2 separate regions of the Homo sapiens genome follow, and region 2 is linked to region 1. Evidence: promoter capture Hi-C in 16 types of primary human blood cells and fetal thymus (Javierre and others, 2016). All regions are on one chromosome and are shown on one strand. Each heading gives the region's core, a stretch centred on a gene start or on the middle of the fragment in contact. The rest is flanking DNA. Distances are from core to core; before and after follow the strand shown.

What was found. The method cuts DNA at HindIII sites, captures the fragments that hold promoters and counts their contacts. A CHiCAGO score of 5 or more calls a contact.
Region 2: a contact is called between a fragment that was not itself captured here and the fragment with the promoter of PSD2 in region 1, in 1 of 17 cell types (M0 macrophages). The highest score is 5.3, in M0 macrophages.

Annotation. Positions count from the first base shown.
Region 1 is chr5:139,794,303-139,799,803 of GRCh38, reverse strand. PSD2 (pleckstrin and Sec7 domain containing 2) reads right to left here and starts at 3,996. Exons shown (of 15, transcript NM_032289.4): 1 at 3,829-3,996. RefSeq lists a silencer at 4,278-4,477. The HindIII fragment of the contact is 8,840 bases long and covers 569-5,501 here.
Region 2 is chr5:139,846,662-139,851,564 of GRCh38, reverse strand. It overlaps NRG2 (neuregulin 2), which reads left to right. Exons shown (of 10, transcript NM_004883.3): 10 at 2,868-4,784. The coding sequence ends at 3,648. Among named protein-coding and RNA genes, the nearest start is that of PSD2, 53 kb to the right of the region's middle. RefSeq lists silencers at 2,787-2,846, 2,897-3,316, 3,447-3,636. The HindIII fragment of the contact is 1,442 bases long and covers 1,126-2,567 here.

The sequences.
Region 1 (5,501 bases), core at 2,747-5,246:
CCCAGCTCCATCCCCTTCTCCGATACCCCCCAGCAACACCCTCCCAGCAGGGCCCCCAAACCACACAACTCCACTCTCTCTATATGCCACAAGCAGCAGCCCCAATGCTGTCCCCCCTGTCTTGTGCTGGGTGCTGCCACAGCCTCCTGGCTGGTCTCTTTCCCATGTGCTGGCCCAGTCAGCCCCACTCCATCCTCCTCAGAGTGCCTTTCCAACACTCCAAACTGCCTCATCATCCCCTCTTCAAAACCCTTCAGTGGTTTTGAAGTGCCCTTGGGGAAAAGGCCAACCCCTCAGCCCACATTCCAGGCTAGCTGTGGCCTGGGCCTCCCTTCCTGTCTGGCCCCCATGCCCTCTCCCCTTGCTGTGCCTCTCACTACTTTCTCTGGGCTTCCCCTCTCCCCCACCAACAGCACCTGTCTGAGTTGTGGCTCCCCCACTCCCAACCCTGAAGTTTTGAGCTCCCTGAAAGTTTCTGTCTGCTTCTCTATTCTCCAGCATCTGGTCTGATGTAGGGGTTCAGTCAGATTTGCTGACCTGGTGCGCAGATTACCAGGTAGATGAAGCTTCTGGAGGTAGGGAAGGGGGAGGAACAGAATTGAAATACAGGGACCCCTGAGCCAAGTGACCTAACTTACCACCACCTACTACAGGACAAACTAATAACAGGTGCCTGCCAATATCATGCACTGAGAAGGACATGACATCATCTATGAGATATTCTTGCCCCAAAATGGTTAACTTGACTCTAATCACAAGCAAGCAAGAAGACAAATCCAGGATGTGAGACGTATCACAAGCCTTCCAAATTGACAATGTCATTAAAAAAAATCTCAAAAAAGCCAGGGATTCATCCAGATTGAAACACTAAAGAGCCATAATAACTAAATGCAATGTATGTTCCATGATCAAATTAAAAAAAACAGCTATAAAGGACTTTACTGAGACAACTAGAGAAATTTAAATATGGACTACATGTTAGGTTAAACTGGATGATTACTAAACTTCTTGGGTATGATAACAATGCATTATTTTTGTAGAAAAATGTCCCTGTCTCAGGAAATTCATGCTGAAGTATTTAGAGGTGAAGTGTTATAATGTTGGCAACTTACTTTCAAAAGATTGAGAGAGAGAGAGAAAGAGAGAGAGAGAGAAACAAATGTGGCAAAATGTTAACAACTGGCAAATCTAGGTCTCTAGGTGAAGGGTATGTAGGTGGGTGTTCACTATACTATCAGCTTTGACAAGATAAAAAGTAAGGTGGGAGAAGGAAGGGAGTGGAGGGAGACGTTCCAAAGAGGGGAGCTCAGGGGTTGGAATTTTGGGGCAGGAGTCAGAGGAGAGGACATTCCTTCCCCAGGGCAGTCCACAAACCTGAGCATGCAGAGCTGTGGGCCAGCCCACAGGCCAGCCCAGGCCAGGCAGGCACAGCGCTGGAGTGGCTTACCACCTGAAAAGGGGGCCAGACCCTGAGGAAACGGACTCACCTGTGGGCAAGCCGGCTTAGAGGGACAAGGAAAACAAGCTGGTCCCAGGGAGACCAGGGCAGGAACATGGGCCCCTCCCCCTCCATTGAGCTGTGGCAAGGAGCCAGGTCTGGCCCCAAGCCCACCCAACTCCCCCAAACACCCCTCAAGGGGCGACAGCCTAAGTGTATCCTCCTGTTTGGAGAGCCAGTCTAAATACGGAGCCTCAGACATAAGATGCCGCTCAAAACAGATTTTCCTGGAAAAGACCATCTGGCAAAGGAGGTCTAGAGCATCGTCTGTTGTGAGAGGCAGTGTTGATCTCCTGCAAGCCAACGTCCGGAATGGGAATGCCTTGATCCCACCTCCCTAGGAAACTACAGCTTAGTGCTTGTTTTTCCCAAGGTCACCCTCTTGCCCAGATGGAGAGACACTCTATCCCACCTCCCACCTCTCTCCTAAATTGTGTCTCCAGGGAAGAAGAGGAGAGGATGGGGACACAGGTCTGAGTATCAGACAGTTCTGGCCAAGTGCAAATCCTCACTCTGCCACTTACTAACCAGGAGACTTTGAACAAACAGCTCTACCACAAAATGGGAATAAGGGTAGTGCCTCCCTCTAAAGACTGTTATGAGGGTACTTAGCACATATGCTCCATATGTGGAAGCTAGGTGAGGTAATACCCCCCAGCCACACTCTCTCTCTCAGTCCTGTCTAGAGCAGGAAGTCATTCCTTCCAGCTATCTTTGCTCTCTCCCTTCAGGGAAGACCCTGGGAGGCACTATTTGTCAGGTCTGCTTGTGGAGCGTGCACCCCATAGTTGTCAGACCAGGACAAGCTGCAGCGGGGAGGCCTCTGGGGGCATCCCTGGGCTGCAGGGTGCAATTCACCCAAGCATTGAGACTTCAACCTTGCAAGAGGCACCAGTGAGGGAGGCCTTCCAAGGACAACCCAGTCATCCTCCTTTAGCTGGGCCACACCCACCTACTCACCCCACTGCGTGGGAATCTTTTGGGGGCTCTGGCCAAACCCTAGGGACCTGCTATGTTTCCACCAGGACCAAACTTTGCAGTAGCCCCACTCAAAAGCCCCTGTTCCCTGCTTCCCGCATATATTGGGGAAAGGGGCTGCTGGGAGGACAGCAGGCACATTTTACTGATTCGGAGATCCCAGGCCCCAGAACTTGTAGCTTCCCTGGGAGACAGGTTCCTAAAGTCCTGGGGAGAGGGTGGAAGAATGAAAGAACGACTGCAACTGCCCTGGGCCACGGGTTGGGTTTGGAGGCAGTCCCAGCCCAGTGAACCCCCCCACCCCCAACCACTATTAAGCAGCTCTTGTTTGTAGGATCTAGAAAAAGGAACTGGGGAACCCAGGAAAGTCCAAACCCAGGCTGCCCACCTGCCCTGGCCAAATCCTGAGCCCTCTCGCTGATCCCCATCAAATTCAGCCTGGCTTATCCCCAGGCTGCCAGGAGTCTTAGGCCCTCTTCCATTGTGACTGCTGCTTCTGCTCCCTGTTCTCTTCCTGGCCCCCCCAAGATGGCCCCAAGACAAAGGGGTGGGCTTGAGACAGTGGCCCCCTGGGCCTATGCAAAAACAATGCCCCCAGTGATCATTCCGGGGAGTCCCTGCATCCTCTAGGAACAGCTGAATACCTCCTCCTCCGAGGGGGCCCGCTGGGCAGGGTTGTCCCCAGTCTGGACTCCCTCTGCACCCAGCCCCAGCAGCCCGCTCCTGGGACCCCTCCCTCCCGCTGCCGCCTCGGCCATTATGTGCCTCCTCAGCCCTGACTGCCACGCCCCCGTGCGAGCCCCCGCTCTAGCTGCAGAGCCGGGGAGGCCTGGCCGCCAAGCAGGGCTGTCAAAGTTGGGAAACTGGAAACAGAAATAAATCCTCAAAGCTGCAGCCTCGTGAAGGTGGCTGCCGGCAGGCCCCGGTACCCAATGCCCCGATCCCCGACCACCAGGCTGCCACTGGCACCCCCCACGCACACGCGTACCCCCAGATTATACAAAAGCGGGGAGAGGGTAGTGGGTGGCGGAGCCGGGAGACAATCGGCCCGGCAGCCCCCACCGTCCCTCAGGCTGGGCTCGGGCTTTCCCGCGGCGCCCCCTCTCCCCGGCCCAGACCCGGCCAGCCCGGGCTTCCTCTCTCGGCCCCATCTCCATGACAACCGTATCCTTCGGATGCTCCAGACGCCGCGGAATTGATCTGGAAATGTAGCTTTGTTAGCGGACCCGGGTGGGCACCGAGGGCGAGGGCGACGCCCCCCACCCGCACGCGGCCCTCTCCCCGGCCCGTCCCGCCCCGGCCTGGCCGCCAGCGGGGAGGGGCGGGTCCCGGAGCCCCGCGGCCCCACTCACCGCTGCTGGTCCCCGCCGCGGGTCCGGCCTCTCACGGCGGGGCCATCGGAGGCCGCCGGGCTGCCTGTCCCGCCCCGCCGCCGCCGGTCGGAGCTGCCCGCGCCCGCCCGCGTCCCTTCAGGTGCCGGAGCCGCGATGTGGAGAGGCTGAGCGAGGGGGACGGACGGCAGGAGGGAGGGAGCGGAGCCGTGAGCTGGAGGAGGAGGAGGAGGGAGGAGCGGGAAGGGCGGGGAAGGGCGGGGGCACTGCGGGCGCGCGAGCGGCGGGCGCGGAGCCCGGAGGGAAGCGCGGCCCCCAGCCCTGTCCGCTTGCAGCGCAGCGCTCGCCCCGGGACCCCGAGCGTGCCGGGGAGAGCGCGGCCCACCTTGTCCCCCTCTGCCCCGCGCGGGCCCTTTAAGAAAGGGGGGGAGGGGAGCGCCCGGGGTTCTGCCCCCTCCTAGCCACGCTGGGCCCCTGCCGTCCTCGAACCCTCGGGCAGACCCAACCACCTCCGCCCTCCAGGCAGGACCCACCGGTCTAGAACCTGAGCTCTCGGGACCCGCCAGGCCCTGGAGGTGAAGGAGGGGGCGGGTCCTGGCCCTCCTCCCGCGGTCTGTTCAGGGAGTGACCCCTGCCCCCAGCCCCCCGACACACACGCCAGCCCCCGGGAGACGCCGCCAAGGGAGGAGCAGGGAGTGCGGGGGGCCAAGGTGAAGAATCTCAGAGAGGGAGACTGAGCCCCTGAGACCTAGAGTCACACGGGACGGGACGGAGACCTGGGCTGTGGGGTGAGAAGGAGCCTCGGGACAGAGTGGGATGGGAGGAGGCAGGAGAGAGGAGAAAGAGACAAAGGAGAAAGAACCTGAGGGAGGCGGGAGGTGAGGGGTGGGTCCAACCAAGAATCCACATCCCTGTGCCAGGTCAAGGGGAAGCCTCCCTGGGCAGATATAAGGAGACAGAGAGAGACAGAGGGTGCCCTGGGCAGAGGAAACCATCTCCCAAGGCACCTGTCCCACGGTGTCTCCCCAAGGGCAAGTCAAGGCCCTGAAGCCGCCCCCCTCAGCCCAGGACTCTAACTGAAGAAGAGGGTTGACTGGCTGTACCTGGGCTAGACATTAAGAACTTCCTGGCTGTGAGGCACCTGCAGAGTAAGAGTCCGCCTCTCAGAGAGGCATTAAAGGGCCCCCACCCACAGGGATCTAAGGAGGGCGTGGGGAGCAGGCCCAGTGCCTGGGAGAAGGGAAATCAGGATAGAGTCAGGCCCTGCCACTGGAGGCCACTTTCTACCCCTCTCCCCTACTCCAGCCCCTGGGGGGTTCACCACACCCAGTTGCTTCCATCTCCAGACCTCAGCAGATGATCCACACTCTGCCCGGTGGGGCCTTGATCCTGCTGTGCTCAGTGAACTCCTACTGAACCCTCAAATTCCTCCTTAAATGCCCCTTCCTTCATGAAGTCTTCTCTGACCTTCTTTCCACCCATGAACACACAAACATGGACTCTTCTTAGGGAGCAGGAAGAGGATTTGCTGACCTCTTAGGGTGGCAGTAATTGGAGGTGTGGAATCTGAGCTGTGCGTAGTCTCCCTCCCTTCAAGCTGGGCAACAGCAGGAGCTGGGACTTCATCAACCATGGTGACACCTCTGACAACCAAGCATCTACCAAGTGCTCTTCATGTGTCATATTTAATTCTC
Region 2 (4,903 bases), core at 597-3,096, 54 kb before region 1:
AGGGCTGGCACCACTGGCCCAAGGCTGACCCTTAGGGCCCCTCAGAAACACTCCAAAGAGCCTCATCTCCATTTTTCATATGGGAAAACAAGGTCCTAGAAAAGGTGAAATGGCCTGCTCAGAGCCATCGGCATGTTAATGACAGACTGGGACTAGAGTTGGGCCAGTGGACCCTGGTGGACAGTGACCATCTAATTTAATTGTCCTCCCAGGACACTTTTCACACTAGAAAAAGGACATTATTAATAGTTACACTGGAACATCAAGAACAAACAGGCAGCCGGGCGCGGTGGCTCACACCTGTAATCCCAGCACTTGGGAGGCCAAGGCGGATGGATCACCTGAGGTCAGGAGTTTGAGACTAGTCTGGCCAACATGGTGAAACCCCCATCTTTACTAAAAATACAAAAATTAGCCAGGCATGGTGGCACATGCCTGTAATCACAGCTACTTGGGAGGCTGAGGCAAGAGCATCCCTTCACCTGGGAGGCGGAGGTTGCAGTGAGCTGAGATGGCGCCACTGCACTCCAACCTCAGCAACAGAGCAAGACTCCCTTTACAAAAAGAAAAAAAAAAAAAGAACAAACAGGGGCTGTTCTGGACAAACCAGGATACATGCTAGAAGTTCCATGTCCCAGCAGGAACAGAAGGAGACACGAAGAAGGAGTAAACTGCAGAGTGGGAGGGGAGGTTGCCTTTGAGGACACTGACCAGCACAAGATGGACGTGAGCCAAGAATGATGGCAGGCCTTGGCAGTAGCAGCAACAAGACCCCAGGGTTCAAGGCCTTGTTGGCTTCCTAAGCAGTGGATGTAGTAAGAACCAGGAAACGCCCTTTCTTCCCTGACTCCAAGCCAGAAGTCAAGGGCCAGCACCCCTGCCACCTTGCTCAGCCCTGAGTGGCCCTCAGCAAGTGGGGTCTGTAGGAGGTGAGCAGGGAAAGATGAGTGGTACTAAAAACTCCACACCAGGGAGCAGGGAGAGGAGCAGATATTCCCTTGCTCTCAACTCAGCCTACTCCATGCCAGGCCCTGTGCTGGGCAGGCCTGGCTGGGAATCCAGAAGTGGCCTGCCAGGTTCCTGCTCCTGAGGAGCTCCTAGCCACAGAAACAAACCAAGGAAGCTTACAGCAGCCTATGGAAGGTGCTAAACATGACACCACACCAGGGCAGAGAGACCCAGTCTGACTGTAGGCTCTGGGAAGTAGCCAGATTTTCTAAGCCCAGCTCCACCACCTGTGTGATTTGGGGCAGACTGATCACCTCTGTACCTTGTTCCCTCAGCTGTAGAACAGGGAGAACAAAAGCTACTATGCATGGTTCAAGTGAAGGCCACCTGAGATCATGTGCACAGAGCTCTTTGTCTCATCCCTGGCATGGAGCTGATGCTCACTAGGTGTAGCTATTTATGAATCGTAACCACAGCAATGAGACTCCTTAATGGGTGGTAGGAAGGGGAGAGGCAGGAGAGCAGGAAGAAAAGCATTCTAGGCACGGGGAACAACTTGAGCTGTTCCAACAGAGGCACTTAAGAACAGGGCTGATGAGTGAGGTGCCTGGAACAGAGTGGGCTGTAGGGAGCAGAGGAGCTGGGCCTGAACAGGCAAGCTGAGGCCAGACAGACTGACCCTGGGTGGGTAAACAGGAAGACCGGCTTCAGCAGAGCTGTGACTTTACAAGATTGCTCTGGGAACTGCATAGAGTGAAGGAGGAGAGACCCTGGGGTGGACCCAGATGACCACATGTGAACAGTCGGGCCCAGGATGGGGTGGAGAGTGTGCTTCCGGAGAAGGGAATGGGTAGGACTTGGTGGTTAATCAGATGTGCCGGTGGGAAAGGGAAGAGGGAGGAGTCAGGCGATTCAGAAAAAATGATAATGGGGACTCCAGGCTGGTTCCAGAGAGCAGTGAGATGCCCAGCTGTGCAGTTTGGAAGGGAAGCGTGGAGGTGGGTGGCCCCTGTCCTGAGGTGACAACGGTGGGGCAGAAGACTGATGGGCTTACAAGGGGGATGTGGAGCACAAAAGGGGACAGGTACCCGGGATCCAGCCTGGGAGATATTAGCAAGGCCAGACTTCTGAAGGAGCTGGTGGTGTGGGGATGGGTCTGTAGCCACAAGCAGAGACACCTCATGGGATCTTGGTACTCCCCTGAAGCAGGTTTTGACTTCACTGTAAGGAGGAATATTTCCCTCACTGAAGCCATCAGGGCATGGGAGGAATTGTCCCTGTGGGGCAGTGAGGCCAGGTCACAGGGGTATCTGAATGGAGACTAATGGCTTCTGGAATTGGGCAGTATGAGTCCTGGTTCCTGACTAGCCTCAAGTCACATCCCAGCTCTGCCACTTCTTGGCTGTGTAAATCCTGAATAAGTCACTTAAACGTTCTGAGTGTTACTTTCCTGCGTGTAGAATTAAACGTTCTGAGTGTTACTTTCCTGCGTGTAGAATGGGACTGGCGGAAGGGTCTTACAGAGCTGCGGTATTAAACCAGATGGAACATGTACCCCAGCGTGAGCCTGACCCCCTGACGGTGAGCATTCCCACAGCAAGTGACCATTCATGAAAGCTTACCAGGGTCAGGCACAGGGCTAACACATCCCACTGATACAATCTGGAATCATCCCAACAGAGCTATGGAATCAACACCATGGTTATGCCCGCGTAACAGATAAGGAAACCGAGGCTCGGAGAGGTTTAGGAAATTGCATAAGGCCACTGAGGGTTGCTGCCGTCATTCTTGCAGGCGGGGTCTCGGGCAAGGTTAAGGCAAGTCTGGGTCCGCCCCTCCCACCCTACCCCACCCCCAACCCCCCCTCCCCCGCGCCGGCCCGGCCTGGCCCTGGCCCATGCCTCTGCCTCTCCCCGCAGGTACGTGTCGGCCCTGACCACGCCCGCGCGCCTCTCGCCCGTGGACTTCCACTACTCGCTGGCCACGCAGGTGCCAACTTTCGAGATCACGTCCCCCAACTCGGCGCACGCCGTGTCGCTGCCGCCGGCGGCGCCCATCAGTTACCGCCTGGCCGAGCAGCAGCCGTTACTGCGGCACCCGGCGCCCCCCGGCCCGGGACCCGGACCCGGGCCCGGGCCCGGGCCCGGCGCAGACATGCAGCGCAGCTATGACAGCTACTATTACCCCGCGGCGGGGCCCGGACCGCGGCGCGGGACCTGCGCGCTCGGCGGCAGCCTGGGCAGCCTGCCTGCCAGCCCCTTCCGCATCCCCGAGGACGACGAGTACGAGACCACGCAGGAGTGCGCGCCCCCGCCGCCGCCGCGGCCGCGCGCGCGCGGTGCGTCCCGCAGGACGTCGGCGGGGCCCCGGCGCTGGCGCCGCTCGCGCCTCAACGGGCTGGCGGCGCAGCGCGCACGGGCGGCGAGGGACTCGCTGTCGCTGAGCAGCGGCTCGGGCGGCGGCTCAGCCTCGGCGTCGGACGACGACGCGGACGACGCGGACGGGGCGCTGGCGGCCGAGAGCACACCTTTCCTGGGCCTGCGTGGGGCGCACGACGCGCTGCGCTCGGACTCGCCGCCACTGTGCCCGGCGGCCGACAGCAGGACTTACTACTCACTGGACAGCCACAGCACGCGGGCCAGCAGCAGACACAGCCGCGGGCCGCCCCCGCGGGCCAAGCAGGACTCGGCGCCACTCTAGGGCCCCGCCGCGCGCCCCTCCGCCCCGCCCGCCCCACTATCTTTAAGGAGACCAGAGACCGCCTACTGGAGAGAAAGGAGGAAAAAAGAAATAAAAATATTTTTATTTTCTATAAAAGGAAAAAAGTATAACAAAATGTTTTATTTTCATTTTAGCAAAAATTGTCTTATAATACTAGCTAACGGCAAAGGCGTTTTTATAGGGAAACTATTTATATGTAACATCCTGATTTACAGCTTCGGAAAAAAAAAAGAAACAACAAAAAAAAAAGAGAGATGGGCCAATTTTTTGACTCTTTAATAGAAACCTATTTTGTGGTGCCTTTTGCTGTATGCTCATCTGGGGCTCCGGGGGACAGGTCTGGGTTGTGGGGTGCTGAGAGTGACAGCTGGGAGAGAAGAGGTGCGGGTTCTGTTGGGGGCGAGGGTGGGGGGCGGTGGGGGGTTGGCCCTAAGGAAGAACTGAGGACGGAAGTAGCTTTGCTCCCAGGCAAGAGCTGAAGTTCCCGACCCCTGGGAGGAGAGGGCCAGGACCCTAGGCTTGGAGCTGGAGCTGGGGTAACTTCCAGGGGGAGATAAAGACACAGCTACCCGAATGGGGAAGCCCTGGCTACTCACAGCTGTTAAAGGAGGGGGGGCAGAGAAACGTTTCCCCAAGAGCCTGAGCCCAGGGAGGTGGCAGCTCTGCCAGGGGCCCAATGTTGGCGGCTCCTGTCCCCCACAGCCTCCAGGACGCCCCTCCGTCCTCTGCAGCACCTTCGTTTACAGGTCGTCTTTTCTATTTTACACCTGCATGTCCTTTGCATTTCAGATTCTTTAGATTGGATGCATGGTCACGCTGGGACCGAGAAGAGCCACTCGACAGTGTATTCCCCTTTTAGCAATAAAGTAACACCATTTCCTTCTCACAGGCTGCCTCCTAGCCCCCAACCCACCTATGACATCCACTCGTCTCCAGTCCTGCCCTCCCACCCCCAAAAACTGGGTCCACTGCTAATTTGTCAAAAAGGTAATTGTTTAAAAAAAAAAAAAATCCCAAACAGAAACAGATGGGAATCCTGTCCTGAAATGTCTGAACACCTGACTGTTGACACTTGAACATTTTTATATTATAAATAAAATCAGAAATAACTCCTGTTTGACTGTGTGTGCCTAGCCTCAGATGAGGAGGGAACTCAGAGCACGAAGTCCCATGGTGGATGTGGATGATGCTGGCCTGGAGGTTGGAGGGGGCCAGGGCAGTCCCTGGAAGGAAG